Regions from separate parts of the Homo sapiens genome. Here regions 1, 2, 4, 5, 6 and 7 are each linked to region 3. Evidence: promoter capture Hi-C in human tissues and cell types (Jung and others, 2019). All regions are on one chromosome and are shown on one strand. The core of a region is centred on a gene start or on the middle of the fragment in contact, and the rest is flanking DNA. Distances in the headings are between cores, read along the strand shown. Region 1 overlaps TRAP1 (TNF receptor associated protein 1). Region 2 overlaps CORO7-PAM16 (CORO7-PAM16 readthrough). Region 3 holds the start of ADCY9 (adenylate cyclase 9). Region 4 overlaps TRAP1 (TNF receptor associated protein 1). Region 5 overlaps SLX4 (SLX4 structure-specific endonuclease subunit). Region 6 overlaps CREBBP (CREB binding lysine acetyltransferase). Region 7 has its middle 13 kb from the start of SLX4.

What was found. Contacts are between HindIII fragments. The study calls those that stand out against the background at their distance.
Region 1: a fragment that was not itself captured here is called in contact with the fragment with the promoter of ADCY9 in region 3 in 3 of the 25 tissues and cell types used here (IMR-90 fibroblasts, aorta and dorsolateral prefrontal cortex).
Region 2: a fragment that was not itself captured here is called in contact with the fragment with the promoter of ADCY9 in region 3 in 2 of the 25 tissues and cell types used here (dorsolateral prefrontal cortex and spleen).
Region 4: a contact is called between a fragment that was not itself captured here and the fragment with the promoter of ADCY9 in region 3, in 1 of the 25 tissues and cell types used here (dorsolateral prefrontal cortex).
Region 5: a contact is called between a fragment that was not itself captured here and the fragment with the promoter of ADCY9 in region 3, in 2 of the 25 tissues and cell types used here (dorsolateral prefrontal cortex and hippocampus).
Region 6: a fragment that was not itself captured here is called in contact with the fragment with the promoter of ADCY9 in region 3 in 4 of the 25 tissues and cell types used here (H1 embryonic stem cells, IMR-90 fibroblasts, dorsolateral prefrontal cortex and 1 more).
Region 7: a contact is called between a fragment that was not itself captured here and the fragment with the promoter of ADCY9 in region 3, in 1 of the 25 tissues and cell types used here (hippocampus).

What each region holds. Positions count from the first base shown.
Region 1 is chr16:3,674,165-3,678,214 of GRCh38, forward strand. TRAP1 (TNF receptor associated protein 1) reads right to left here. Exons shown (of 18, transcript NM_016292.3): 6 at 3,334-3,494; 7 at 1,872-1,981; 8 at 1,160-1,233; 9 at 175-330. It also overlaps the pseudogene LOC124903630. Among named protein-coding and RNA genes, the nearest start is that of DNASE1, 21 kb to the left of the region's middle. The HindIII fragment of the contact is 6,931 bases long and covers 1-4,050 here.
Region 2 is chr16:4,376,239-4,380,277 of GRCh38, forward strand. The region is part of intron 9 of CORO7-PAM16 (CORO7-PAM16 readthrough); the gene reads right to left. The region is part of intron 9 of CORO7 (coronin 7); the gene reads right to left. The region is part of intron 1 of VASN (vasorin); the gene reads left to right. Among named protein-coding and RNA genes, the nearest start is that of VASN, 6.4 kb to the left of the region's middle. RefSeq lists enhancers at 1-79, 80-859, 2,420-3,201. The HindIII fragment of the contact is 6,090 bases long and covers 1-4,039 here.
Region 3 is chr16:4,114,429-4,118,015 of GRCh38, forward strand. It overlaps ADCY9 (adenylate cyclase 9), which reads right to left and starts at 2,014. Exons shown (of 11, transcript NM_001116.4): 1 at 1,262-2,014; 2 at 1-1,057. The coding sequence starts at 1,014. RefSeq lists a silencer at 2,152-2,221. The HindIII fragment of the contact is 7,185 bases long and covers 1-3,587 here.
Region 4 is chr16:3,703,147-3,706,882 of GRCh38, forward strand. The region is part of intron 1 of TRAP1 (TNF receptor associated protein 1); the gene reads right to left. Among named protein-coding and RNA genes, the nearest start is that of TRAP1, 13 kb to the right of the region's middle. The HindIII fragment of the contact is 6,928 bases long and covers 1-3,736 here.
Region 5 is chr16:3,604,241-3,607,797 of GRCh38, forward strand. It overlaps SLX4 (SLX4 structure-specific endonuclease subunit), which reads right to left. Exons shown (of 15, transcript NM_032444.4): 3 at 2,234-2,458. Among named protein-coding and RNA genes, the nearest start is that of SLX4, 5.6 kb to the right of the region's middle. The HindIII fragment of the contact is 4,547 bases long and covers 1-3,557 here.
Region 6 is chr16:3,811,076-3,814,878 of GRCh38, forward strand. All of the region lies in intron 2 of CREBBP (CREB binding lysine acetyltransferase), which reads right to left. Among named protein-coding and RNA genes, the nearest start is that of CREBBP, 68 kb to the right of the region's middle. The HindIII fragment of the contact is 6,097 bases long and covers 1-3,803 here.
Region 7 is chr16:3,622,567-3,626,285 of GRCh38, forward strand. It overlaps a transcript of DNASE1 not described here. Among named protein-coding and RNA genes, the nearest start is that of SLX4, 13 kb to the left of the region's middle. RefSeq lists an enhancer at 3,428-3,527. The HindIII fragment of the contact is 6,693 bases long and covers 1-3,719 here.

The DNA.
Region 1 (4,050 bases), core at 1,551-4,050, 440 kb before region 3:
CCCTCCTCAGCCTCCCAAAGTGCTGGGATAACAGGCGTGAGCCACCACACCCAGCACTACCTATGTTTTTCATGCCCTCACACTGCCATGTTAATCATGTGACATCTGCAGAGCTGATGCCACAGGGGACAACAGAGTCACCCTGAGGGCCGTGGGACTGCCACAGTGCCTCACCATGTCGGGCACGTAGAAGATGCTGCGGATGTTGAGCGGTGCGTCCGTCTTATAGTGCAGGGTGTAGCGGGGCTTGTCGTGAGCCTGCGCGACGTAGCGGTAGAACTCCTCATGTTGCCACTCACGGACATCCTTGGGGTCCATCATCCAGATGGCCTGGAAACGGAGATCGGCGGGGAGGGCGTCGTGTTCACCACGCACGTCTTCTCCACCACCGTGCAGGCCTGAGCCAGTGCAGCGCCTGGCCCTGGACAGGCTCCTGGGACAGACGGGCGGTGGTCTCAGGCGTAGACCCCTCTCCAGCCCCACCGCTGGGCTATGCCGGGTAGTGCAGGGGAGACACACAAGGCTCTGGGGCAGGAGCTCCTCAGGACAACATGTCAGGAGGACCAGCCGGGACCTGAGGGGGCCTGTGGGAGAGGATGACGCTGCCCAGCAGGGGCGAGCTGACGAATACAGTGTGGGCCGTGAGAGCGATGACGACCCACGCTGCACCGCAGCTGAGCCGCGAGGGGGAAGTCAGTCACTGAGGACAGCATGCCGTGTGACTCCATCCAGGAGAAACGTCTGGAACAGGCAGCACAATGGACAGAAAGGAGACCGTGGCTGCTGGGACTGGGGGAGGGGCAGTGGGGAAAGGGCTGCTTTTTGGGGTGATGGGATGTTCTGGAATTGATGCGGGGTGGCTGCACAGCTCTGTGGCTGCACTGAACACCATGGCTGCACACTGATGTGGTGAGCCAGCTGGGATGGGCGTTACGCCTCAGTGAACCCTGACCCCTGACCCCGGCTGCCCGGTGCACAGGGGCAGGGCTGTGGTAGAGCTGGGCCCCTGTCTCATCCCCACACCCAGGTCTCATCTCCACAGAGCAGCTCGCCCTGTGACTCTGGGCCGCATCCCCTGGGCTCATCTCTTCTCCGCTGCCCTGAAACGTACAGATTTGTCTCCATGTTTGACCAGTCCCTAGAGGAACTCAGGGCTCACCTGCAAGGTGTTCATCCGCCTTCCATTCAAGTACAAGGGGAAGCTGACGAAGTTGCTGTACTTCGTTACCACATCTGGAAGGGACAAAAGAAAAACCACACTGCATCTACAATGCTTGTGGAAACGCAAGCTTTGCAGCAGCTCCAGGATGAGCGCCAGCCTGCTGGGAAGGGTCCTCCATGCTGTGTACACTTCACAGGTACAGAAACAGGGCACAGTGGGGACACCTGTCCTCCCCCCAGTCTCACGGGGGCAGCAGCGGAGCCCACGTGAGAACCAGAGCTGTGGAGGCCCCGGCTGCTGCGAGACTGCAATGTCAGCTTGTGGCTGGAACATGGCTTTCTGGGCTGACTCCTGGGGGTACTCAGGGCCTCCCTGAGTGTCCAGCAGGACACAAAGAGGGAAGGCCACGCCCACATCCTGGGACAGGACTGCGCCAAACCCCCAGGTGCACTAAAGGCCAAGGGCCACGCAGAGGAAGGAGGAGGAGGTCCGCCTCAGCCAGGCCAGCTTCCTCCCAGTCCCAGCAGGAGCTCGATGCTACGCAGCCCTGGCGGGCAGCCCCCCTCCCAGTCCCGCAGCGGCTCGGCCCTTCACGGCTCTGCCTGTGCACCCTACGTGCAGGTAGAACCAGGGAAAATGCCTGCTGACCTGGTGGCCTCCAGGCCACACATGGATCCCAGAGTGAGCCTGGGCCCGGGCTCCCGCTCACCTCGCACCCGGGCCTCGCTGGAAAACTCCTTGCAGTCGGATTTCAGGTGGATGATGATTTTTGTCCCGGTTCTAACTCCCGAAGCTTCGGCGATTTCAAACACTCCAGAACTAAGGCAGGCAAAGAAAGGAAAAGCCAGGTGGATGTGACACTGGGACATACCCTGCATGGGACTCCAGCGGTTCCCGAGGGTTTCATAGGCAGAGCCCAAACAACACACAACACACCTCAAATGCCCCATTTCTGACCCCAGCGCACCACTCAGGCCATCACATGCCCATCAGGAACGATGAGCCTGTCGCAGGCGGCAGAGTTCTCCTGGTTCCCTCGGGCGGGGGGCGGGGGGGCGGGGGTCCTCCACCGACCCTGGGCTTCGAAGAAGCTTCTGGGCTTACCCCAAAAGCAGGCCTGGGGCACTGTGGGGGACTGGCCCAGCTCCAAATCGGGTGCCAGATGCCCAGGGGCAAAAACAAAGGCCAGGGGGACAGGCGCCCCCTAAGAAGAGCAGAAAACCATCTCCGAAGCACAGGAGGGGGGAATCCCCCGGCAGGGCCATGTTGATGCCTTGGCCTAAGTTTACTCTGAGCCCCGCTCCCATGGAATTAAACAGGAATGTTAGTTTTGGGAGAGTGGGGAGTCAAGCTGAGCACAGTGCACACACTGTGGAGCAGAAATGGCATCACGGAGGGAGGACGCCTCGGCTGGCTGGAAGCGGCTCACCTGCTAAAAAGCCCTCGGAGCCAGGCGTGGTGGCTCACGTCTATAATCCCAGCACTTTGGGAGGCCAAGACGGGCAGATCACCTGAGGTCGGGGTTCGAGACCAGTCTGACCAACATGGAGAAACCCTGTCTCTACTAAAAATACAAAATTAGCTGGGCGTGGTGGCATGCGCCTGTAGTCCCAGCTACTCAGGAGGCTGAGGCAGGCCAATTGCTTGAACCTGGGAGGCGGAGGTGGCAGTGAGCCAAGATTGTGCCATTGCACTCCAGCCTAGGCAACAAGAGTAAAACTCCGTCCCAAAGGAAAAAAAAAAAAAAAAAGCCCCCAGCAGGCTCCTCACCCTATAGAGGCAGAAGTGGGCTGGGGAGACAAAGCCAGGAAATGCCAGGGCTGGGAGGAAGCAGAATGAGCTCTTGCAGAAGGTCGGTCACAGGAGGCTGCATAGTGTCCACCAGGCGACAGGCCAGTCCTGCAGCTCAGCCACTGAGAAAGGAGCTCAGCGCGGGCCGGACCTGCCTTCCCGAGCGCAGTGGTGGTGACCAACCACATGGGACCAGACAGGTGCCATAGGCCACCTGGAGCCACAAAAGTCACTAACTCCCCAAAATGGGAGAGTCAGATTTCATATAAAAAGCCCAGAAAATGCCTGTGTACGTTTTCTGAGTCCATCCCTTTCCAAACTCCATGCTAAGGGCTCCAGCTCAGCTTTGAGCTGCCTGTCAGGCGACATTCGTCACTCACCCATCTGAAAGCCACTGGTAACCCAGGCTCCCCGGGGCTGCCGAGCGGGAATAGACCTCCACTCTGTCAGCCACCATGAAAGCTGAGTAGAAACCCACTCCAAACTGGCCGATGATCTTGCTGCTGGCCTCAGCCTGGTTCTGCAGAGCATCCAGGAAGGCCTGTGGGGCAGAGGCCAGTTAGTGAGGCAGCCTCCCCTCCAGAGAGCAGACACTCCCAACACCGTGGCTCTTCTGCGAGCACCGCTAAGACCCCTTCATCCTGAAAACAGCCACACCGAGTACTTTTCCACCCCATTCTACACGTGAAGAGCTAAGTCACAGAGAGGTGACACATTAGCCCTAGGACAACCAGCTGGCAGCAGTGGGACAAGTGTGTTTTCCATTTGATTCCCAAAGCTCACAGTCCTGCCTGTCCCAGACAGGTGGAGGCCTGTGGGTCACACCTGGGGGTGGGGAAAGAGCAGCTTGAATAAGCTCTTTCCCTTGAATAAGCTCCTTCCATAGGAAGGCCAGGAGTGAGGAGAGGCTCCAAACTGGCTTCCATATTCAAGTCTCCTGGACTCTACACTTTGTGGGAAAAAGAGTAGAAATCACGCGCATGCGTCTGTAAGCACCGCACAGCACTTCATTTTTCTACTATAATACTGCCAAAGGTCCTAAGGCCAAAGTCAAGTAAAATACACACGCCCACTGCCCTGGCCCACGTTGTCCGATG
Region 2 (4,039 bases), core at 901-3,400, 260 kb after region 3:
GCCGGGCCCTGAGCCTCCTCGGACACGTCAGCGAAACTGGAGCCAGCCGTCCTGGCCGCCGGCACAGTCCCGCCTGCCTGGAGGGGTTGGCAGACTCCCGGGGCTGGGCTGCTGCCAGGCCTGACCGGCCACACAGAGCCTTGGCGGGCCAGCATGAGGAGCGGGGGCCCGGAGTCTCAGGGTCAGACCTGCAGCGCCTGTCCTGCACCCACGCTGAAGCATACGGCACAGGAGGGGCGTACTGGCCTCAGACTGTCTATCTGTCTGTCCAAGCCTGTCCCCTACTCAGCAGGCACACCGCCTGCCCCAGAATCAGTGAGATGTTCTCGCCAGGGGCTGATGTGGTCACCAGATGCCTGGGTCCCACCCCAGCCATGCTATCCCCTGGCCCGTCCCCGCCTGACCCTGGGCGTGTGTGGTGTACCCCAGAGGTGGGTGGGCGTCCCCCTGGGAGTTGAGATGACGAGTGCCTTGTCCTCCTTACTCATAGGGCCCCTCCCTGAAGTCCTGTGCTGAAGGGGCCGCCAAGGGACAGCTCACCCACCACGTGCCCCCTTCCAGAACCAGAGATACCCCACCCCCGCTCCCCAGCCCCCAGGGTGAAGGGCAGCCTTGGTGTGGGGATGTCTGATCTGTGTAAAGCTGGCCTGAAACCCTCTCCCTTAGTAGTACCCACGCCCAGGGGGCAGGCAGAGTTCTGCGTTTATGAGTGACGCCCTCCGCAGTGAATGTTTACCGACCACTTGGCAAGTGCTCCGAGCACAGACCAAGTCACCCCAGACACAGGCACCACGAGCACCACGAGCAGCGCCCACTGCACAATGGGGGCTGAGGTAGGGGTCGTGGCCGGGCTGTGGACCCTGTCGCCCTATGCCAGTTACTGTGCCAGGGAGGGAGCAAGGCCGGCAGCAGCACTCAGCAAGGCTGAGGAACTTGGGTGGAGGACGGAGGCCCCAGACCCTTGCGTCATCTTCCCACCCCCCGACGTCCCCGAATCCCAGGAATCCCAGGGCTGCCTCCGGAACACCTCCTGCACCAGGCAGAGGAAAAGGTCTCACCTCCCTGCCTGACTAGTGATCAAATATCAAAGCCCAGGTCCTGGGATCACCGGGTGGGAGGGTGGGTGGGCGGCGGCAACCACCGTGTGACCTGTAGACAGCCCCCAGCCCCACGCACACACCAAGCACACGCCCAGACCCCAGGCGGGCGGGACAGCTCCCAGAACTTGTTAAAAGAACTTCCCCATTTGAAAACAAACAGAACAACAGAAAACTACAACTCCAGAGGGTGAGGGGGCAGGGCTGCTTGCACCAACTCCAGAGGTGAGAAACTGAGGCCCACAGTTGAGAAAGGAACTCTGGCCTCTGTCCCCTGCCACCGTCCCCTCCACAGTCAGCCTTCCCTCGCTGGGTTCCTCTCGGGGCTGGCTGATGGGTTCTCAGTGCCAGGAGTCCCTGGCGGTGCCCTCAGAGCTGCCAGCCTGTAGCTTACAAACTCTGGGGTTTTCCAAAGCTCCAGCGCTGCCTCCTCCCTCCTCCCTTTGATGTGGGGGTAGAATTGGGGCTCAGGCAAAAGAGCTCACCGCACATTTTACGGGGCTGGGAAGCAGGCTGGCTGCCGCCTGCTGGATGGTCAGCCCAGGACCCCAGCCCACAGTCCTGACCTAGACCCCTGTCCTGCTAACAGGAACGCACATTCCACAGCTCACTACCTGTCAGCCGGAAAGCCACCCTGTGGCCAGATGGACCCACAGCATCCCCTCTCCCTTCACAACCTTGCTGATTAAAGACCCAACAGATTACGGAGCCCAGAGCTATGGCTGGTCCCCCTCCCCAGTGCAGGGTGAAGAGCACCCCCCAGCACGTGCCCCTAAGAGCTGGCCTGCACACCTGGCCTTGCAGGGCTGAGGACTCCACATGCATCCCCCACTGCAGCCCTGAAGTGTCCCAGATACTCAGATGAAGAAACCGAGGTGTGAGAGCAAAGTCACTGTCTGCGGCCTCACAGCTTGGACACCTCTGAGCACAGGGCCGCCTGCCTGGAGTGAGCGCTCTTAACTGTGACCTTAAACGAGGCCCAAGGGGAGCTGCGGCCACAGTGGTGGCCAGGCTGGCCAGGCTGGCCACGTGGAGGATCCCCTCCCACTCTGGAACCTGGCTGCATCCTTCCTGACCCTGGTCTGGCCCTGCTGGGAGGGCTAATTCAGGCAGAGGTGGCCTCACCCCCCATATGGACATGGGGTGGGTGGGGGTCACTCACAGCCCACATCTGGAGGCCAGGCCGCACCCGCCGTCCTCTGAGTCAGTGAGGGTGGAGCGGGTCCCATGGGGGAAGAGAAGGCTAGGGGTGTGGCCCCAGGGCCTTAGGTCATCAGACACGAGCCCCCCTGGGGTGGGCTGGCCGGGCCAGGGACGCGTGCCTGGGGTTTGGGGTGCTAACTTCTTCCAGTGCTCAGTGCCAGGCCCTCCTGGGCTGTTCACTCAGCAGACCTGAGCTAAGTGGGCCTGGAGACACCTATGGCAAAGGCAGGCTGGGTCTCACCTTAGGGAGGTGAGGGGGCACACGACAGCAAGGGGGACACCGCTAGGTTGGGGAGGCTTAGCCTGCTGGCCTCTGAAGGGTGCTTGTTGTCGCTAACTGGCTAGGGGCTCAGGGTCGGTAGCTCCTAGGGGAGACGACTCTGGCAGTGCGATACTACACGTGGGCAGGGCCTGCGTGGGCCCAACCCCGGGGACAAGGGCTTCTTCCTTCACCTCGAGCTACCCGCAGACCCCAGTGGTCACCTCACCAGTGACTTGTCTAATCTGTCCTGGGACCACCTGCTCCTCCTCACATTCCAGGAACCCACGTACCTGGGGGAGAGGGAGCCCTATGGACGGGTCCCCCCAGCCTGGGGCGGAGTGCAGGCTGGGTCGGGGTCGTGTTCCCTGGACTACCTGCACAGCCTGTGTGGGGGAAGGGGAAGCCCGGACTCCAGCACAAAGGGCTCTTGTGTGAGCTGCAGGCGCCACTGGGCAGGATGCTTCCTGGGGATGGGCTGGCACCCCGTATGAGGCTCAGGGACTTCTAGGGGTGCCAAAGTGGGGAGGGCTCTTCCTGGGGACGGCCCCAGCGGTCTCCCCAGGAGTCTAGGTGATGGGGGCCAGCCACAGACCTGCCTGACTTGGGCAGTGCAGCTAAGATCTGGAGCCTGGAGCGGCTGGTGGGAGCCCCCGCCCCCAGGGCCATCTGGAGGGCACGCACCCTTCACAGGTGGCTGCTGCACACCTGGGCTCTAGCTCGGACTTGCTGGCACCGCAATGGCAGCGAGTCCCTGCACCTCCATGAGCCCTGCTTTCTTCTGTCTGCCCTGACGTGGCTGCTGGGGGGCTACCTGAGGTGACGGTAAACACTTAGTGTTCCTTCGTCCTTCCCACTTCGCTGGCACATGGGAAGGACTTGCACCATCACTGCCAAGGGGATGGCTGCTGCTCATCTTTCTTGGTGCCCAGCTCAGGGCAGACCCCAAGAAACAGTAGACGAAGCCGGGCACGGTGGCTCATGCCTGTAATCCCAGCACTTTTGGAGGCTGAGGCGGGCAGATCACCTGAGGTCAGGAGTTCCAGACCAACCTGACCAACATGGTGAAACCCTGTCTCTACTAAAAAAAAAAAAAAAAAAAATACAAAAATTAGCCATGCATGGTGGCTGGCACCTGTAGTCCCAGCTACATGGGAGGCTGAGGCAGGAGAATTGCTTGAACCTGGGAGGCAGAGGTTGCAGTGAGCCGAGATCTCGCCACTGCACTCCAGCTTGGGTGACAGAGCAAGACTCCGTCTCAAAAAAAAAAAAAAAAAAGTAGATGAATGACTCTGCAGAGTTTTCCCAGGCCTGGCACTGCCCCTGGGGCTGCCATGTAGCCAGTGTCCCCACCTGAGCCCTGTGGCCCCCCAGCTCCAGCTCTGTCACCAGCCTCAGCTCCCCGCCTCCCTCCCTCACAGGGGACACCTGCCAATGCCTGTGGCCTCTGCCCCTCCTCCAGGAACCTTCCCGCCGGCCA
Region 3 (3,587 bases), core at 764-3,263:
CATCACGGAATGAATCATCCTCTCTTTGAGGGCTTTTTCCACTTCCAGGTCCTTCCCGTGCATAATGGATTGCCCCACCTTGAGGAAGGTGCTCCTGGACCTCACCTGGGACATGACGAACAGGTGGACCCCGATGGCGTGGATGCAGCCGTGGAGCAGCCCCCTGCTCAGCAGCTCCCAGTGCAGGGCCCCGGCTCCGGGCGAGGGGAAGCAGGCTTCATCCCGGAAATGGTAGCCAAAGGTCTCGAAAAGGACAGAGTAGGCCACCCCCAGACACAAACTCAGGTACAAAGGTAAGTGCATGACGGTATAGAGCAAAAAGAGCACTTCGATGCACATGGAGAAGCTCCCCACTTGAGATAAGCAAGTATCTGTGGGCCGGGCTGTGGCCGTAAGGTTGGAGCTGTCGCCGCGTCCTGAGACAGGCGTCAAGACCTGGAACTGCGCAGCCAGGGTCAGGGCGAACACCAGCAGGGTGAGAGCCAGCGAGGTCCACGCGTAATGCCGGGCGTACAGCTTGGTGAAGGTAAACAGAAAGAAGCCCACACACACCAGGAGGAAGCACAGCGCGGGGGCGACCATGACGATCAGTCTGGATCTCATGTGGACCGCAAAATAGATGCTCCACAGAAGGCAGGCGAAGCCGATGTAGAAGAGCGCATACCGGAACCGGCGCTGGGTCTGCGGGAAGCAGCGCTCCAGGCAGGCCTCCTCCAGGTTCACCGAGTCGAACTTGGGGTCCCACCAGCGGCTGGAGGCCCTCTCGAACAGCTGGGGCAGCTTCTTCTGCCTGCGCAGCCGGCCTCCGCCGCCCACTCGCCGGGGGACGCCCCCGGAGTCCCCAGAGCTGCTGCAGCTAGAGGAGATGCTGTATTTGCAGTGCTTGGGGTGGCTGTTGGAGGACAGCTGCTTGGGGTTGATCTTGACGCGCACGCTGTTGCTGTCCCCGCTGGAGTCGCAGCTCACCTCGGTGCTGTGGTGATGCAGCAGCTGCTGGTGGGGTGGGGAAGCCATGTTGTCGAGTCCCGGGGCCTGCCCCGGCCGGGGTCACCAGTACCTGCCAGCAAAACGGGGAGAGTTAGCGGCGCTCCCACCTAGGCATGCACGCCTAGAGGCCCGGGACCTGCTCCTGTCCTAAGGGGCGGCTCCAGCACGCGACCTGGACAGGCACCATCTGTTCCTGTGGTTCCCGGCTCAGCGGTGCTCCCACCGCCCCCACCGCCCCCACCTTCGAGGCGCACGAGAACCGCTCGGGACGGACCTAGAACGCCCGGGGGTCCCCGCCGCGTGGCCGCCGTGGCTCCGGGACCGCTTTGCTCGCTCGCCTTCCGCGCCTCTCGCCCCGAGGGTGGCCTCCGCGCCGCGCGGCTTCTCCTCCTCGCGCGCTCGCCTCCTCCAGCTGCGGCTCCGGAGGGAAGTTCAGACCTTGAGCGCTCCCAGCCCCGCGAGCCGCCTGCGCACAAACAACTCCGCTGGCGGCGCGGAGCCCTCCATCCTGCAGGAGCCGCGCTCCGATGCGTCAAAGGCGGCGCGCGGCCGGCCCCGGGCCCGGACCCCGACCCGGAGCAGCGAGCTTCGGCGGGCGCCCCCGGCTCGCGCTCCCCGGCCGCCCCCCGCGCTCCGGGCCGGCCCTGCCCGCGGCGGCGGGCGCTGGGGGTGGGGGCGCCCCGGGCTGCGAGTGCGCGGAGCCCGTCGGCGCGGCCCGTCTAGTGGGGCCTGCTTCCCCCCGAGTGCGCCGCCGCTCCCGCCGCGGCCGCAGCTGTCCCGGGACCGAGCGCGTGGAACCACGGACGCGGGCCCCTCGCCGGGCGGCGGTGCAGACGCTGCCGCAGAGCCGGGCTCCCGCGACGCCGGCCGGGACGCCCGCCCGCCCGCGCCCACGCCGGGGGCCGCCTCCCCGAGCTAGAGATGCGGCCGCCGCCGCGCCCGCCGCCGTGTCCCCCGCGGCCGCTGCCTCATGTCGGAAGAGCTGCCGCCGCCACCATCTCCGGCCCCTGCCCCGCCCGCTGTCACTGACAGACGCGCGCCCGCGCCGCCCCTCGCCCAGCCGCAGCGCGCACGCGCGGCCCGCGCTCGCCGCCACCGCCTCCTGGCCCCGGACACGCGCACGGGCCGCGCGCCGCCCCGCCTTGGTGCGCGCGCTGGGCTGGGGCTGCGGGGCGGGGCGGGGCGGGGCGGGGCGCGCGCTCGGCTCCGCCCCCCGCCCCGGGCGGCGCCGCTTCTAGGCGGCGGGCTGTGGCCGCTGTCCGCGCTCCGGGCGCTGTGGGCCCGCCCTCCCTCGGCGTCCCAGAGGCCGCGCGCCGCCCGGGGTCCCGACCCTGCGGAGAGACCTGAAGGCGCCTGCCGTGGAAGAAGCCGCTGGCCGCAACGTTTGGGAAATCAAAATGTTGCCTTCCCACTCGGCACGCCTTTGGGATAAATCGAAGTTTCCAACCGTTGGATTTCCCTCCCGGGAGGCTCCCCTTGCTCTGTAAGCAATGAATGCGGGCCCCGGGGCACTCGGCCTGCCCTGGACCTGCTCACGGGGCGACCTTCACGGGCCTAGCCTCCAAAGCTGGGCCCACCGACGACCACGTTCCCCCGCCCCAGGGGTAGTTTACCTTGCTGTCCTTGAGCCCTTCTCCCCCTCCTCATGAACTACTGCTTTTCCTTTTACACAAATGAGACTTTCAAAGGAGTCCGCGTCCCATAATGGCAGTTGTGCATTGGCCTCCATAAACATTGCCACGTGTAAATAAAATCCTATTCTCTCTAGCATGCAGATCCCGACCCCTTCTCCCCACACTCCACAGTGCCTCCTGCCAGTCACGGGGCTCTCTTCCATCCCCTCCCTCGCCTCCCAGGCCCAGCGCCGGGGCCCACACCAGGTCTCACTGTTGAATTAGAAAATAAAAGTAAAATGTGATCTGTCCATGCAATGGAATATTATTCGGCTACAAAAAGGAATGGAGCACCGATGCATGCTGCAGTGTGGAGGAACCCGGGAAACGTTATGCTAGTGAAAGAAGCCAAACAAAAAAGGCCACATAGCGTATGATTCCATCCAGATGAAATGTCTCGAATTGGCAAATCCGTAGAGGCGACACAGATTGGAGGTTGCCAGGTGCTAGGGGAGGAAGATAAGCAGCTTGGGGTTTCGTTTTAGGATGATGAAAAAGTCTAGAAATGATCCAACAGGATGAATCTACATACTGCCCTTGAATCATACACTTTAAAGTGGTTTAGGCCGGGAGCGGTGGCTCACGCCTGTAATCCCAGCACTTTGGGAGGCCGAGGTGGGCGGATCACCTGAGGTCGGGAGTTCGAGACCAGCCTGACCAACACGGAGAAACCCCATCTCTACTAAAAATACAAAAATTAGCCGGACGTGGTGGCACATGCCTGTAATCCCAGCTACTCGAGAGGCCGAGGCAGGAGAATTGCTTGAACCCGGGAGGCGGAGGTTGTGGTGAGCTGAGTTCGCACCATTACACTCCAGCCTGGGCAACAAGAGTGAAACTCCATCTCAAAAAATAATAATAAAATAAAATAAAGTGGTTTAAATGGTAAATGTTATGTTGAGTGTATTTTACCACAATAAAGGAGGA
Region 4 (3,736 bases), core at 33-2,532, 410 kb before region 3:
AGAGACCCCAGGAACAAAAACTAAACAATTAAGAATGCATTTACCAAGAAAGCAAAATCTTTCCTTTTTTTTCTTTTTTGGCAAGATCTTTTAAGAAAACTCTGAAACACTACTAGGGCCAAAGACTGTCATTAAATAACCCACTTAAGACTGTTACATATGCTACATACTCACAAGCGGAGGACTAACAAGTAAACTACAGACGTAAGGTAACACTTGGAAAGCATGGGATTATAGAGAAATGGGACAATGCTGTGTAATGTGTGCTGATGCTGAATTACCTCTAACACAAAGAAAAAACACTAGAGGTAGAACAGCGGTTTGCACACACTACCATGGTGTTCAAATGCATATACATGTTATGTGATACATGCATGCATAGCTATTCTCATATGCCACGCAGATCTCTGCAAGGACACCCAAAAACTGGCTAATGGACTTGCCACCAGGAGGGGTGTTGTCTGAGGCATGTCAGTGGGAGACGAGTTTTTCATCAGATATACCTCTGTATCGTTTGCATATTGGACTACATATATCAATAATCTACAAAATAAATACCCTACTTATAAAACTATTTACAAAAGTTAGGCTGGGCGCGGTGGCTTACGCCTGTAATCCCAGCACTTTGGGAGGCCGAGGCGGGCAGATCACGAGGTCAGGAGATCAAGATCATCCTGGCTAACACGGTGAAAGCCAGTCTCTATTGAAAATACAAAAAATTAGCCGGGCGTGGTGGCGGGTGCCTGTGGTCCCAGCTACTCGGGAGGCTGAGGCAGGAGAATGGAGTGAACGCGGGAGGCGGAGCGTGCAGTGAGCCGAGATCGCGCCACTGCACTCCAGCCTGGGCGACAGAGCGAGACCCCGTCTCAAAAAAAAAAAATCAAAAAACAAAACTATTTACAAAAGTTACATTACAGGCCAGGTGAGGTGCCTCACGCCTGTAATCCCAGCACTTTGAGAAGCCAAGGTAGGCAGATCAGCTGAGGTCAGGGGTTTGAGAACAGCCTGGCCAAAATGGTGAAAACCCGTCTCTACTAAAAATACAAAAATTAGCTGGGCATGGGGATGCACACCTGTAATCTTAGCTACTCGCGAGACCAACGCACTAGAATCGCTTGAACCTGGGAGGCAGAGGTTCAGTGAGCTGAAATTGCATCTCTGCACTCGAGCCTAGGCGACAGCACGACTCTGTCTCAAAACAAACAAAACGTTGCATTATAAAAAACACTTAAAAACTTACGAGAAACATAAACACATTTACAAAATTTCAAACACATTTTTAAACTATTCTCATTCTAAAATTCATGTGGAAAAGTTAGTGTACATAAATAGCCAAAGAAATTTTGAAAAAACTGAGGAAATTCATCAAATATTAAAGAACATTAATATAAAGCTACAATATTAAAATAAATTTCCAGACCAGGCATGGCTGCTCACACCTGTAATCCCAGCACTTTGGGAGGGAGATCCAGGCAGGAGGAGGCTCCCTCGAGCTCAGGAGCTCGAGGCCAGCCTAGGTAACATAGGGAGACCCCCCCAACTCTCAAAAAGTAAACACACACAAAAAAAGGTTAAATTAATTTCCAGCAGGGCACAGGGGCTCATGTTTGTAACCCCAGTGCTTTGGAAGGCCAAGTTGGGAGGAACACTTGAGGCCAGGAGTTCTAGACCAGCCTGGGCAACATAGCAAGACCAACCTCTTATTTTTTTTTTTTTAATTTCCGCTGTCACTTATTAAGTCAAAATGAATTCCAGATGGACCATAGAAGTAAAAATAAAAGCTAAAAGTACTGAAAGAAAACATGAAAGATTTAGTAACTTTATTGAGATGTAACACATCTGCCATATAATTCACCCAAGTGCACAATTCAGTGGTTTTAGTATATTCACAAAGTTGTACAGCCACGACCACTAACCACAGAACATTTTTTTTTTTGAGACGGAGTCTCGCTCTGTCGCCCAGGCTGGAGTGCAGTGGAGCCATCTGGGCTCACTGTAAGCTCTGCGTCCTGGGTTCATGCCATTCTCCTGCCTCAGCGTCCCGAGTAGCTGGGACTACAGGCGCCCGCCACCACACCCGGCTAATTTTTTGTATTTTTTTTTTAGTAGACACAGGGTTTCACCATGTTAGCCAGGATGGTCTCGATCTCCTGACCTCGTGATCCGCCCGCATCGGCCTCCCAAAGTGCTGGGATTACAGGCATGAGCCACCATGCCCGGACAACTACAGAACATTTTTATCACCCCAAAAGAAGCCCTACAGCCACTCATGTTCACTCTCTTTTCCCTCTCCCACCAGCTCTTGGCAACTACTCATCTATGTCTGTCTCTATGGATTTGCCTTTTCTGGGCACTTCACAGAAATGAAATCATACAATATATGGTTTTTTGTCTGGCTTCTTTGACTTAGCATAAAGTCTTTGGGGTTCATCCACATATAGCATGTATCAGCACCTCATTCCTTTTTATAACTGAAGAGCACTCCGCTGTATAGATTATTTTTTTCCATTCATCAAATGATGGGCAACTGGGTTGCTTCCAAATTTTTTGTGAGACAGAGTTTCACTCTCGTTGCCAGGCTGGAGTGCAATGACATGATCTTGGCTCACTGCAACCTCTGCCTCCCGGGTTCAAGTGATTCTCCTGCCTCAGCCTCCCGAGTAGCTGAGATTACAGGCATGTGCCACCACACCCGGCTAATTTTATATATATATATATTTTTTTTTAGTAGAGACGGGGTTTCTCCATGTTGGTCAGGCTGGTCTCAAACTCCTGACCTCAGGTGATCGGCCCACCTCGGCCTCCCAAAGTGCTGGGATTACAGGCGTGAGCCACCAGTCCCGGCCCTTTTTTTCTTTTTTTTTTTTTGAGACGGAGTCTCACTCTGCAGTGGTGTAATCTCCGCTCACTGCAACCTCCAATTCCCAGGGTCAAGTGATTCTCCTGCTGAGGCACCCGCCACCACGCCCAGTTAATTTTTGTATTTTTAGTAGAGACGGGTTTTGCCATGTTGGCCAGGCTAGTCTCAAACTCCTGACCTCAAGTAATCCACCCACGTTAGCCTCCCGAAGTGCTGAGATTGTAGACATGAGCCACTGCACCAGGCCCAGCTTCCAACTTTTTACTGTAACTTTTGTTTTGGGGTGGGGTGGGGGTCTCACTATGTTGCCTGGAGTGCAGTGGCTGTTTACAGGCACTGTCATGGTGCATGGTAGCCTCCAACTGGCAGGCTTAAGCGATCCTCCCACCTCAGCCTCCCAAGCAGGTGGGATTAGAAGGGCGCACCACCACTCCTGGCCTATTTGCACTCTTTTTTTTTTTTTTTTTTTTTTGAGATAGGTTCTTGCTCTTTGACCAGGCTGAAGTGCAGTGGCACAATCACAGCTCAATGTAGCCTCAAACTCCTGGGCTCGAGCAATTCTCCCACCTCAGCCTCCCAAATGGCTGGGACCACAGGCATGTGCCACCACACCCAGCAATTTTTAAAAATTTTTTTTCGAGATGGAGTCTCACTATGTTGTCCAGGCTGGCATTCAACTCTTGGCCTCAAGCAATCCTCCTGCCTTGGCCTCCTGAAGTGCTGCAATTACAGGCATGACCAACCGCACCCAGCCTCGTTTCCACCTTCTGATGGACCTTCAGATTGTTTTCATTTTCGGGTTATTATGAATAATGCTGCTATGAACATTCATGTGTAGGCTGTTCTGTGGACATGTTTTCATGTCTACAAGGTATG
Region 5 (3,557 bases), core at 869-3,368, 510 kb before region 3:
TGTCATGGAAAACAAAAGGAAATGGGGGACTATTCTAGAATCTAGACCTTAGGATACTGCTGAGCTACAGCAATATGCAGTGTGTGAACTTACTGAATCCTTGTTCAGAAAAAAAAGAAACCAGCTACAAAAAATAACCTTGAGACAACCAGGGAAATTTGAGTTTGAACTGGACGCCAGGCACTATTATGGAATTAAGCGTGCTAATGGTATTGTGGTTATGCAGCAGAATCTAGGGGTAAAGGATCCTAATGTCTATAATTTACCTTCAGATAATATGGAAGAAAAATATGTACGCTTGGCTAGGCACGGTGGCTCACGTCTGTAATCCCAGCACTTTGGGAGACTGAGGTGGACAGATCACAAGGTCAGGAGTTCCAGAACAGCCTGGCCGGCATGGTGAAACCCCAACTCTACTAAAAATACAAAAATTAGCTGGACGTGGTGGTGCATGCCTGTAGTCCCAGCTTCCTGGAAGCTGAGGCAGGAGAATGGCTTGAACCCAGGAGGTGGAGTTTGCAGTGAGCCGAGATTGCGCCACTGCACCCCAACCTGGGAGACAGACCAAGACTCCATCTCAAAAAAAAAAAAAAATGTATATTTATAAAGACATAAACAAATGGCCAAATGTTAACATTTGTTAAATCTAGATTGAGGTATAGGGGATTAGGGGATTCATTGTAATTTTTTTTTTTTTTTTTTTGAGACAGGGTCTCACTCTGTTGCCCTGGAGTGCAATGATGCAATCACAGCTCACTGCAGCTCAACGTCCTGGGCTCAAGCAATCCTCCCACCTCAGCCTCCCGAGTAGCTGGGACTACAGTTGTGCACCATCATGCCCAGCTAATTAAAAAAAAATTTTTTTTTGAGTCAGAGTCTTGCTCTGTTGCCCAGGCTGGAGTGCAGTGGTGCAATCTCGGCTCACTGCAAGCTCTGTCTCCCAGGTTCACGCCATTCTCCTGCCTCAGCCTCCCGAGTAGCTGGGACTACAGGCACCCACCACCATACCTTGCTAATTTTTTGTATTTTTCATAGAGATGGGGTTTCACTGTGTTAGCCAGGATGGTCTCAATCTCCTGACCTTGTGATCTGCGCACCTCGGCCTCCCAAAGTGCTGGCATTACAGGCGTGAGCCACCACGCCTGGCCCCTAAAATTTTTTTGTAGAGATGGGGGTCTCACTATGTTGTCCAGGCTGGTCTCGAACTTGTGACCTCAAGTAGTCCTCCTGCCTTGGCCTCCCAAAGTTTTGGGATTATAGGCATGAGCCATCATGCCTGGCTTCATTGTAATTAAAACAACAACAACAAAAAAACCTTTTCTGAAAGGAAGAGTTCTTTGTGAATACTGAGGGTTATCTTTTTAAAAGGAAAAAACTGAAAGGGAAAGCTTTCATAATAAAAAGTCATAATTTTTAAAAAAAGGAGGCCAGGCACAGTGGCTCACGCCTGTAATCCCAGCACTTTGGGAGGCCAAGGCGGGTGGATCACGAGGTCAGGAGATCGAGACCATCCTGGCTAACAAGGTGAAACCTTGTCTCTACTAAAAATACAAAAAATTAGCCAGGCGTGGTGGTGGGAGCCTGTAGTCCCAGCTACTCGGGAGGCTGAGGCAGGAGAATGGCGTGAACCTGGGAGGTGGAGCTTGCAGTGAGCTAATATCGTGCCACTGCACTCCAGCCTGGGTGACGGAGCGAGACTCCATCTCAAAAAAAAAAAAAAAAAAAAAAAAGGAAGAGGGCCAGGTGCAATGGTTCACGCCTGTAATCCCAGCACTTTGGGGAGCTGAGGTAGGCAGATCACTTGAGGTCAGGAGTTCGAGACCAGCCTGGCCAACTTGGCGAAACCCTGTCTCTACTAAAAATACAAAAATTGGCCAGGTGTGGTGGCACACGTCTGTAATCCCACTGGCTGGGGCAAGATAATTGCTTGAACCTGGGAGGCGGAGGTTGCAGTGAGCTGAGATCATGTCACTGCACTCCAGCCTGGGTGACAGAGCAAGGCTCTGTCTCAGAAAAAAAAACAAAACGGTACCTTATCAAGGAAGCTAGGTGGGAAATGATCCCAGAGACTCTTCATTCTCTGGCTGGATCCAGTGAAGTGGCAAAGGTAAAACATCAAGCAGAGAGCCTATCCACAGAAGAAACTCAACAAATGCTGATTCCTTCCCGCCTCCCTTCCTCAGAGTTGTATTAACTTATCTCTGTGTGGAAGACAGAAACACACTCATCATACCATTCCCCGCCATCATCTCCTCTTGAGGATCCTTTGGGACATTTTCTTCCCGCGCAGCCTCGAGGGAGCACTCTTCTGAAGCGTGTCTCAAACGCTCGGGGTCTGCTCTCTTGAACTGCTGCATTCGCTGTAGGACCAATTGTGCTGTGCGGGGTTTGGAGGGACTTGGCACTGCTGTTGTCAAACAGGAAGGAGGAGGCTGGGAGTCGCTGTTGGGCACATTCTCTGGCAAGGAGGAAAATATTCACAACCATCTGTTGTAGCTGGAGAAATAAAAGACTTTTCTACCAGATACAGGTTAGACGCAAGTTTCAAGAGTCCTTTATCAACTAGTTTAGGTTTGACTCACAAATGTGAAGAGGACTGGTTGCTTGTTGGTAACCTCTTTGTTTATGGCAATATAGACATAAATATCAATAACAGGAGGGGAATGGGATGTGACTGCTAATGAGCATGGGGTTTATTTTTAGGATGATAAAACTGTTCTAACGTTAGGTAGTGGTGGTGGTTGGACAAGTCTGTGAATATACTAAAAACCACTGAACCATACCCTTTTAAATGGTGAATTTTATGGAATATCAATTATACCCCAATAAAGCTATTATTAAAGAAATATTAATGACAAAGGTTTATGTCCTAGATCAGTTCTTCTTTAACTTGGGATCCACGGATGATCTTCAGTGGGGATCCATGAACCCCATGAAGTTGTGTGCCAGTTTTGCAGATACGCGCATGGATACGTGTTTTGGGGGAACCATGCATAGATTTCATCCGACTGGCAAAGAGCACGAGAGACCAGTAAAGTTGGTGAGGCAACACTGCTGATGCCTTCCAGTAGTCTATGCGACCTGAGACTCTACCACCACTCTACTGAGAGGTTATTAAGATCAGGAAGTGAGGGCAAAGGAAATTTAGAAACAGAACTCAGGAGCTCAGAGAGCCCATGGTGTATTATATATGCAAGGGTAGTTTTCAGTTTTGCATGAAGAATGTGTAGTAAGCATATAGCTCAGTATACCAAGGGCAGCAGGGCAAGAAAACTGCTTTAAACAGTTAAAAAATTATCCAGGCACGGTGGTGGGTGCCTGTGGTCCCAGCTACTCGGGAGGCTGAGGCAGGGAGGACTGCTTGAACCTGGGAGGTCAAGGCTGCAGTAAGCTATGATAGCACCACTGCACTCCAGCCTGGGTGAGAGACCAAGATCCTGTCTCTAAAAACTAAGTAAGTAAATAAATCAATAACAATAACAAAGGAAAAGATTAAAAGGTCTTCAGAGAGAGAAAGAAAGAACCTGAAGATTCTCCTGGGACTTGAGCCCACACAG
Region 6 (3,803 bases), core at 740-3,239, 300 kb before region 3:
TTGGAAAACAAAACCTTCCAAAGCTGCTACCCAAGGGGAATTCTTTCAGTTTAATCCTTAATTACTCTATAGGTATCTAGTTTCTGTTAGGTTCCCCATCAGATTTGAACTAAGTTTCCATTAGTTCAAAACACACAGTGGAAATATTGCAATGAAATGATACAACACCTGGGATCTCCTTTAAAATACACCTGACCCATGACCAACATGGGTTTGAACTGCATGGGTCTACATATATGGAAATATTTTTCAATCTCTCCTGCTCCTCTTCAAACTCCTCAGCCTCTGCCAACCAAGAGATCAAGACCAGCACCTCCTCATCCTCCTCAACGTGAAGACAATGAGGATGAAGACCTTGATGATGACCCACTTTCACTTAATGAATGGTACATATATTTTCTTTTCCTTATGGTTTTATTTATTTATTTTAATAGAGACAGCATCTTGCTCTGTCGCCTAGGCTGGAGTGCAGTGGAGCTGTCTCGGCTCACTGCCAACCTCTACCGCCTGGGTTCAAGCGATTCTCTTGCCTCAGCCTCCTGAGTAGCTGGTACTACAGGCACGTGCCACCAGGTCCGGCTAATTTTTTTGTATTTTTAGTAGAGACACGGTTTCATCATGCTGGCCAGGCTGTTCTCAAACTCCTGACCTCAGGTGATCCATCCACCTTGGCCTCCCAAAGTGCTCGGATTACAGGCATGAGCCACCGTGCCCGGCCCCTTACGGTTTTCCTAATAACGTTTTCTTTTCTCTAGCTTACTTCACTGTAAAGATACAGTATATAACACATAAAACATGAAATTTGTGTTAAGCAAATGTGTATGCTATTGGTAAGGCTTCTGATCAACAGCAGGGGATTAGTAGTAGTTAAACTTTTATGGAGTCAAAAGGTTACAAGCAGATTTTCGACTGGCAGGGTCAGCACCCTTAACCCCTGAGTTGCTTAAGGGTCACCTCTAATCCACTGGGCAGGAGGAGGTGGCAGGAAAAGGGCATAGATGGAGAGAGCCTGGTAAGGTACTGATAATCACTAACCAAGCAGTAGGCGATGGGTACAGAGAGGTTATAGTATCCTCTCTACCACTGTACAGGTGTAAAATTTATGTATTTATTTATATTTTTTGAGAGTGTGTCACTCTGTCACCCAGGCTGGAGTGCAGTGGCGTGATCTCGGCTCACTGAAACCTCCCTCTCCCAGGTTCAAGCAATTCTCCTGCCTCAGCCTCCTGAGTAGCTGGGATTATGGGCTCGTGCCATCACACCCAGCTAATTTTTGTATTTTTAGTAGAGACAAAGTTTCATCATGTTGGCCAAGCTGGTCTTGAACTCCTGACCTCAGGTGATCCGCCCACCTTGGCCTCCCAATGTACTGGGATTACAGGTGTGAGCCACTGCGCCCGGCCTAAAATTTTCCATAATAAAGTTTTTTATAAAATTAAAGTGCACTGAAATCAAATATATACTAGATAAAGGCAGGAATGGGAAAGAGGAACCCTCAGCTATGCTTCCGTGAGGGCCTGCAACCAACTGGAATTCCTTCCATCAACAGATGTGGGCCAAGTTCCCTGATGACCCCCAGCTCCAGCCTCCACAGGTCAATTCAGGAATTGCCATGGCAATATCCCAGTGCTTATCTTTCTCCCTGTGGAGAAACAACGACTAATTAAGAAACTGGATGCTTGGGCTGCCTGTCTTTGCTTTTTTGCAAAGCTCTAATATTCCACCTTCTGTCTATTGTGTGTTCTGTATTTCTGGAGTAGTGGTCAGTTTGATGGACTGGGAAGGTCCCCGCATAGGGAAAACCTCCCAGGGGTGAGTTTCCAGTTAAGAAATCATAGCTCAGTTCTCTCCATCAGCCTCACCTGGTGACTGCCACGCCAGCATGTCCACTCTGGGTAACTTAACATTCCTTCTATGGACTTCAAACTCCTCGCCTGTAAGATGAGTGTCTTGAACAAGATGGATCGTATTATTTCTTTCAGCTCTAAAAGTCTAGGCTACAAACAAATCAACACTCAACACAACTGGCCCTTTCTGCTGAAATGCCTGTACAGAAACACAAATAAAAACCAAAGGAGTATAACCAGAAAGTTCTAGCTCTGTGCATTTCATACGCAGGTGATTTCCTTCCCCATGTAGTCCTCCTAGGTGACATTTCTCACCTTTTGGAAAGCAATCACATTCTTGTCACCACTAGGTGCTCTACTTAAGTGAACTGAGACACTAATTCTTCTGCAAGTCCACAAACCAGACTCAATTTCGAGTTCAAATGACTTAATCTAGGCAAGATGGTAGCTCGATAAATATTAAGCACATTTCTGATTTGCAAGAAGCTTCCTTCAACTGTCATCTGAAACTTAATTGAAGCAGGAATTTATATTTTCAGAAACCACTATACTAAATTAATTCCATGGAACACTTACTACTCTCAGAATTTGTCTTATTACATATAACCAAACCGCTGAAACATTGTTCTTAGAAGCCTAGAATTTGAATACAACAACACGAACAACAACAAAAAATATAGTTTTTTTTCCCCCAGTTCCTAAATTTCTGACTTCGGACAAAATATGACAGAACACCCACACTCATTTTCCCTCGATCAATTCATCCTCGAAGTCAACTGGTATTCACCAAGTGCCTGGTATGAGCCAAGCCCAGTTCTGAGGCTGCGTAGATGCATTTCCCACTTGTCACGGAGCTCACACCTTATGTCAACCAATTTGACAAACAAACAAACAAAAAATCAACGTCTTTTGGAAGTTTCTAATTAATTAGGCCCAGCATTGACAAACCAAAGTGGGTGACAGCTGAAGGGGTGGGGAAGGGAACAGGTAACCATCTTCCTTCCACACCAAATGCCCAGGCACCCTGGCTCCAGAGAAGAGGGGACCTAAGTACCAAGAGGCCAGTGTGCTCTGTGGACCTCAAAGTTCACCTGACTTGCTTCAGAAAGTTTATTTCCAAAACTTCCCAGATATTTTGACAATTTTCCTAAGATAGCCCTGCCAGGGTGAGTATGAGTGTGTGATCAGATGGGTAATACTTGCCTGGCCTGGGGCCCTTTTCTAACTGGTCAATGTTGTTTAGTGTGTGTGTGTGTGTGTGTGTGTGTGTGTGTTTGAGACAGAGTCTCGTTCTGTGTGTGTGTGTGTGTGTGTGTGTGTGTGTGTGTGTGTGTGTGTGTGTGTGTGTTTGAGACAGAGTCTCGTTCTGTTGCCTAGGCTGGAATGCAGTGGCATGATTTCAGCTCCCTGCAACCTCCGCCTCCCAGATTCAAGCAATTCTCGTGTCTCAGCCTCCCAAGTAGTTGAGTTCACAGGCATGCACCACCACACCCAGCAAATTTTTGTATTTTTTAGTAGAGACAGGGTTTTACCATGTTGGCCACGCTGGCCTCAAACTCCTGGCCTCAAGTGATCCATACACCTCAAGCCTCCCCAGGTGTTGGGATTACAGGTATAAGCCACCACGCCTGGCCATAACTGGTCAATTTCAAAGGGTAACCCAGTGTTTGGAAGCGCTCTGACAGATTTCATCAAAAACGTGTTTGTACCTTTTCTTCTTGGCCATCAGATAAGAGAGTGAAGGAAACAGTCTCAACAAGTTTTTACCTTGATTCTCACAAGGTAAAAAAGATGGCAAGTCAAAGATCATGAACGGTATGTAAGGAACGTCCAGCTCATAGGGATCTACACAATTCTCAAAAATAGGGGAAAAAATTCCCGTCTTTAGCCTATGATAAAAACAAAACCCAGGCTACATGCAGGAGGTTAGGGTTCAAATCTCTGGCACCAGGGCCA
Region 7 (3,719 bases), core at 726-3,225, 490 kb before region 3:
TGTTACAATGTTACAGATAGTTTTTACCAGTTTTTATCATTTGACTTAAAAAAATTTTTTTTCTTTTTTGAGGTGGAGTCTCACCATGTTGCCCAGGCTAGACTTGAACTCCTGGGCTCAAGTGATCCCCCTACTTCAGCCTCCCACGTAGCTGGGACTACACCTATGTGCTACTGTACCTGGCTTGGCTTTGACTTTTAATAAAATTTTTTCCATGTAGAGCTTTACAGTTTTTTGTAGTAAAATAACTTTTCTTGTATGCACATACCTTCTTCCAGTGTTTGACTCACCTTTACGTTCTCTTAATGATGCCTTGTAATGAACAAAGGTTCTTCAAAGCTGGAGGCATCACATTACCTGACTTGAAATTATACTACAAGGCCTCTTTTGGGAGAGTGAGGGGAAAGGATTTCTTGAGAGCTTGAGACCAGCCTCGGCAACATAGTAAGACTCCATCTCTAATGTACCTGCCCCCCACGTCCCCCCAAAAAAATTAGCTGGGCATGGTGGTGCACACCTGTGGTCCTAGCTACTCATGCAGTAACTAAAACAGCATGGTACTTGTACATATTTTTGTACCATAGATCAGTGGGACAGAATAGAGAACCCAGAAGTAATGCCACTTGCCTGCAACCAACTGATCTTCAATAAAGTTGACAAATATGCAGTGGGGGAAGGACACGCTATTCAATAAATAGCGCTGGGAAAATTGGCTAACCATATATAGAAAAATGAAACCGTACCTCTATCTCTCACCGCATACAAAAATTAACTCAAAGACTTAAACATAAGACCTGAAACTCTAAAGATCTTAGAAGAAACCCTAGGAAAAACTCTTCTGGATATTAGCCTAGGCAAAGAATATATGACTAAGACCTCAAAAGCAAATGCAACAAGAAGAAAAATAGGCAAATGGGACTTAATTAAATGAAAACACTTCTACACAGCAAAAGAAATAACAGAGTAAATAGACAACCTATAGAATGGGAGAAAATATTTGCAAATTAAGCCTCTGGCAAAGGACTAATACGTAGTATCTCCAAGGATCTCAACAAGAAAAAAAAACCCATTAGTAAGTGAGCAAAGGCTGGGCGTGGTGGCTAACACCTGTAATCCCAGGACTTTGGGATGCTGAGGCAGGAGGATCACTTGAGGCCAGGAATTAGAGAGAAAGTAGGCAAAGGACAAGAACACATACTTCTCAAGTGAAGACATACAAGCGGCAAAGAAACATGAAAAAGTGCTCACATCAGTAATCATCAGAGAAATGCAAATCAAAACCACAGTGAGATATCATCTTACACTGGTCAGAATGGCTATTATTAAAAAGTCAAAAAACAACAGATGTTGGCATGGATGCACAGAAAAGGAAATGCTTATATGCTGTTAATGGGACTGTAAATTACTATAACCTCTATATAGAAAACAGTATGGAGGCCAGGTGCGGTGGCTCACTACCTGTAATCCCAGCACTTTGGGAGGCTAAGGCAGGCGGATCACTTGAGTGCAAGACCAGCCTGGCCAACATGGTGAAACCCCGTCTCTACTAAAAATACAAAAATCAGCTGGGCGCGGTAGTGCACGCCTGTAATCCCAGGAAGCTGAGGCAGGAGAATCGCTTGAACCCGGGAGGCAGAGGTTTCAGTGACCTTAGACTGTGCCACTGCATTCCAGCCTGGGCGACAGAGTGAGACTCTGTCTCAAAAAAAAAAAAAAAAGGTTAGTGGCTTTTGTGTCCTTGGTTAGCAAGGTCTTCTCTACTTTGAGATTATAAAGTAATTTTCTGCATGTTTTCTTCTAGAGTTTTTATTTTTACATTAAAATTGTTATTGGCCAGCTGCGTAAGGCACCTGGTGGTGCTCTAGGCACTGGGTTAGCGTCCCTTATGCCGAGCTCTAAACCTTCAGAATGCCCTTGCCGCCCCTGGCTGAGTTCACAGTGGCTGAAGCTGTTCCCATAAGACCCTGAATCTAGCAGCCACTGTGTACTATACCTGGAGCAGTCCAACTGGGTGGACTGTGCTCAGCATCCGAACATCTAGACAGGCAAAGCCATTCCCAGTGGTGGCCCAAACCAGCAAACATTGTGTAACAATTTTTTTGCAATCAATTTTTCTTTTCTTGTTTTTTGAGATGGAGTCTTACTTTGTCGTCACCCAGGCTGGAGTGCAGTAGTGGGAACTTGGGTCACTGCATCCTCTGCCTCCCAGGCTCAAACAGTCCTCCCACCTCAGCCTGTATTCTATTTCTGTAGCTGAGAATATAGGTTTCTTCCAGCACACCTGGCTAATTTTTTATTTTATTTTTTATTTTTAGTAGAGATAGGGTTTTGCCATGTTGCCCAGGCTCGTCTCGAACTGGGCTCAAGTGATTTGCTTGCCCCAGCCTCTCACAGTCTGAGATTACAGGTGTGAGCCATCATGCCCAGCCTGCAGTTTTTCTTATTAAAACTTAATGGGGGCCGGGGGCAGTGGCTCACTCCTGTAATCCCAGCACTTTGGGAGGCCTAGGCGGGCGGATCACCTGAGGTTGGGAGTTCAAGACCAGCCTGGCCAACATGGTGAAACCCCGTCTCTACTAAAATACAAAAGTTAGCCAGGTGTGGTGGTGCATGCCTGTAATCCCAGCTACTTGGGAGGCTGAGGCAGGAGAATTGCTTGAGCCCTGGAGGCAGGGGTTACAGTGAGCCGAGATCGTACCACTGCATTCCAGCCTGGGCAACAGAGTGAGACTCTGTCTCCAAAACAAAAAACAATAAAACAAACTAATGGGGCTAGGCATGATGTTATATTCTTGTAGTCTCTGAAACTTGGGAGACTGAGAAGGGAGAATTGCCTGAGCCCATGGTTCAAGGCCAGCCTGGGCTGTGTAGTGAGACCCATCGCTGCAAAAAAAAAATTGTTTAAATAAAATTAGCCAGCATGGTAGCACATGCCTCTACTCCCAGCTATTCAGTAGGCTGAAATGGGATCGCTTGAGCCCAGGAGGTCGAGGCTGCAGTGAATCATAATCGCCTTTCTGCACTCCAGCCTGGGCAACAGAGCAAGACCCTGTGTCAAAAAATAAATAAATAAATGAAACGGCCAATATAGAATAAAGGTGCTAAAAAAGGCATAGGAGGGAATCTTCATGACTTTGGGGTAGGCAAAAAATTCTTAAACAGGGACACAAACCACTAACCATAAAGAAGTGACAAATTATGTGACATTAAAATTAAGAACCTTTATAAGGCACCATTAAGAGGGTGTAAAGGGCTGTGCATGGTGGCTCATGCCTGTAATCCCAACACTTCAGGAGGCCGAGGCAGAAGGATCGCTTTAGCCCAGGAGTTTGAGATCAGACTGAGCAAAATAGTGGGACCCTGTCTGAACAAACAATTTAAAAATTAGCCGGGTGTCAGGGCATGCGCCTGTAGTCCCAGCTACTCTGGAAGCTGAGGTGGGAAGATCACTTGAGCCTGAGAAGCCAAGGCTATAGTGAGCCGTGATTCTGCCACTGTACTCCAGCCTGGGCAGCAGAGCAAGACTCTATCTCAAAAAGGGTGTAAAGATACCACAGACTAGAAGATGTGTGTGATGTGCACGGGACTAGTATCATATGCACAATGACAAAGGATTAATATCTAAAGAAATCCTAAAAAAAAAAAAATAGAAAAACAGGCAAGAGACTTGAGTGGCCAACAGGTATATGAAGAAGTGTTCAACTTATTTAGTCAAAGAA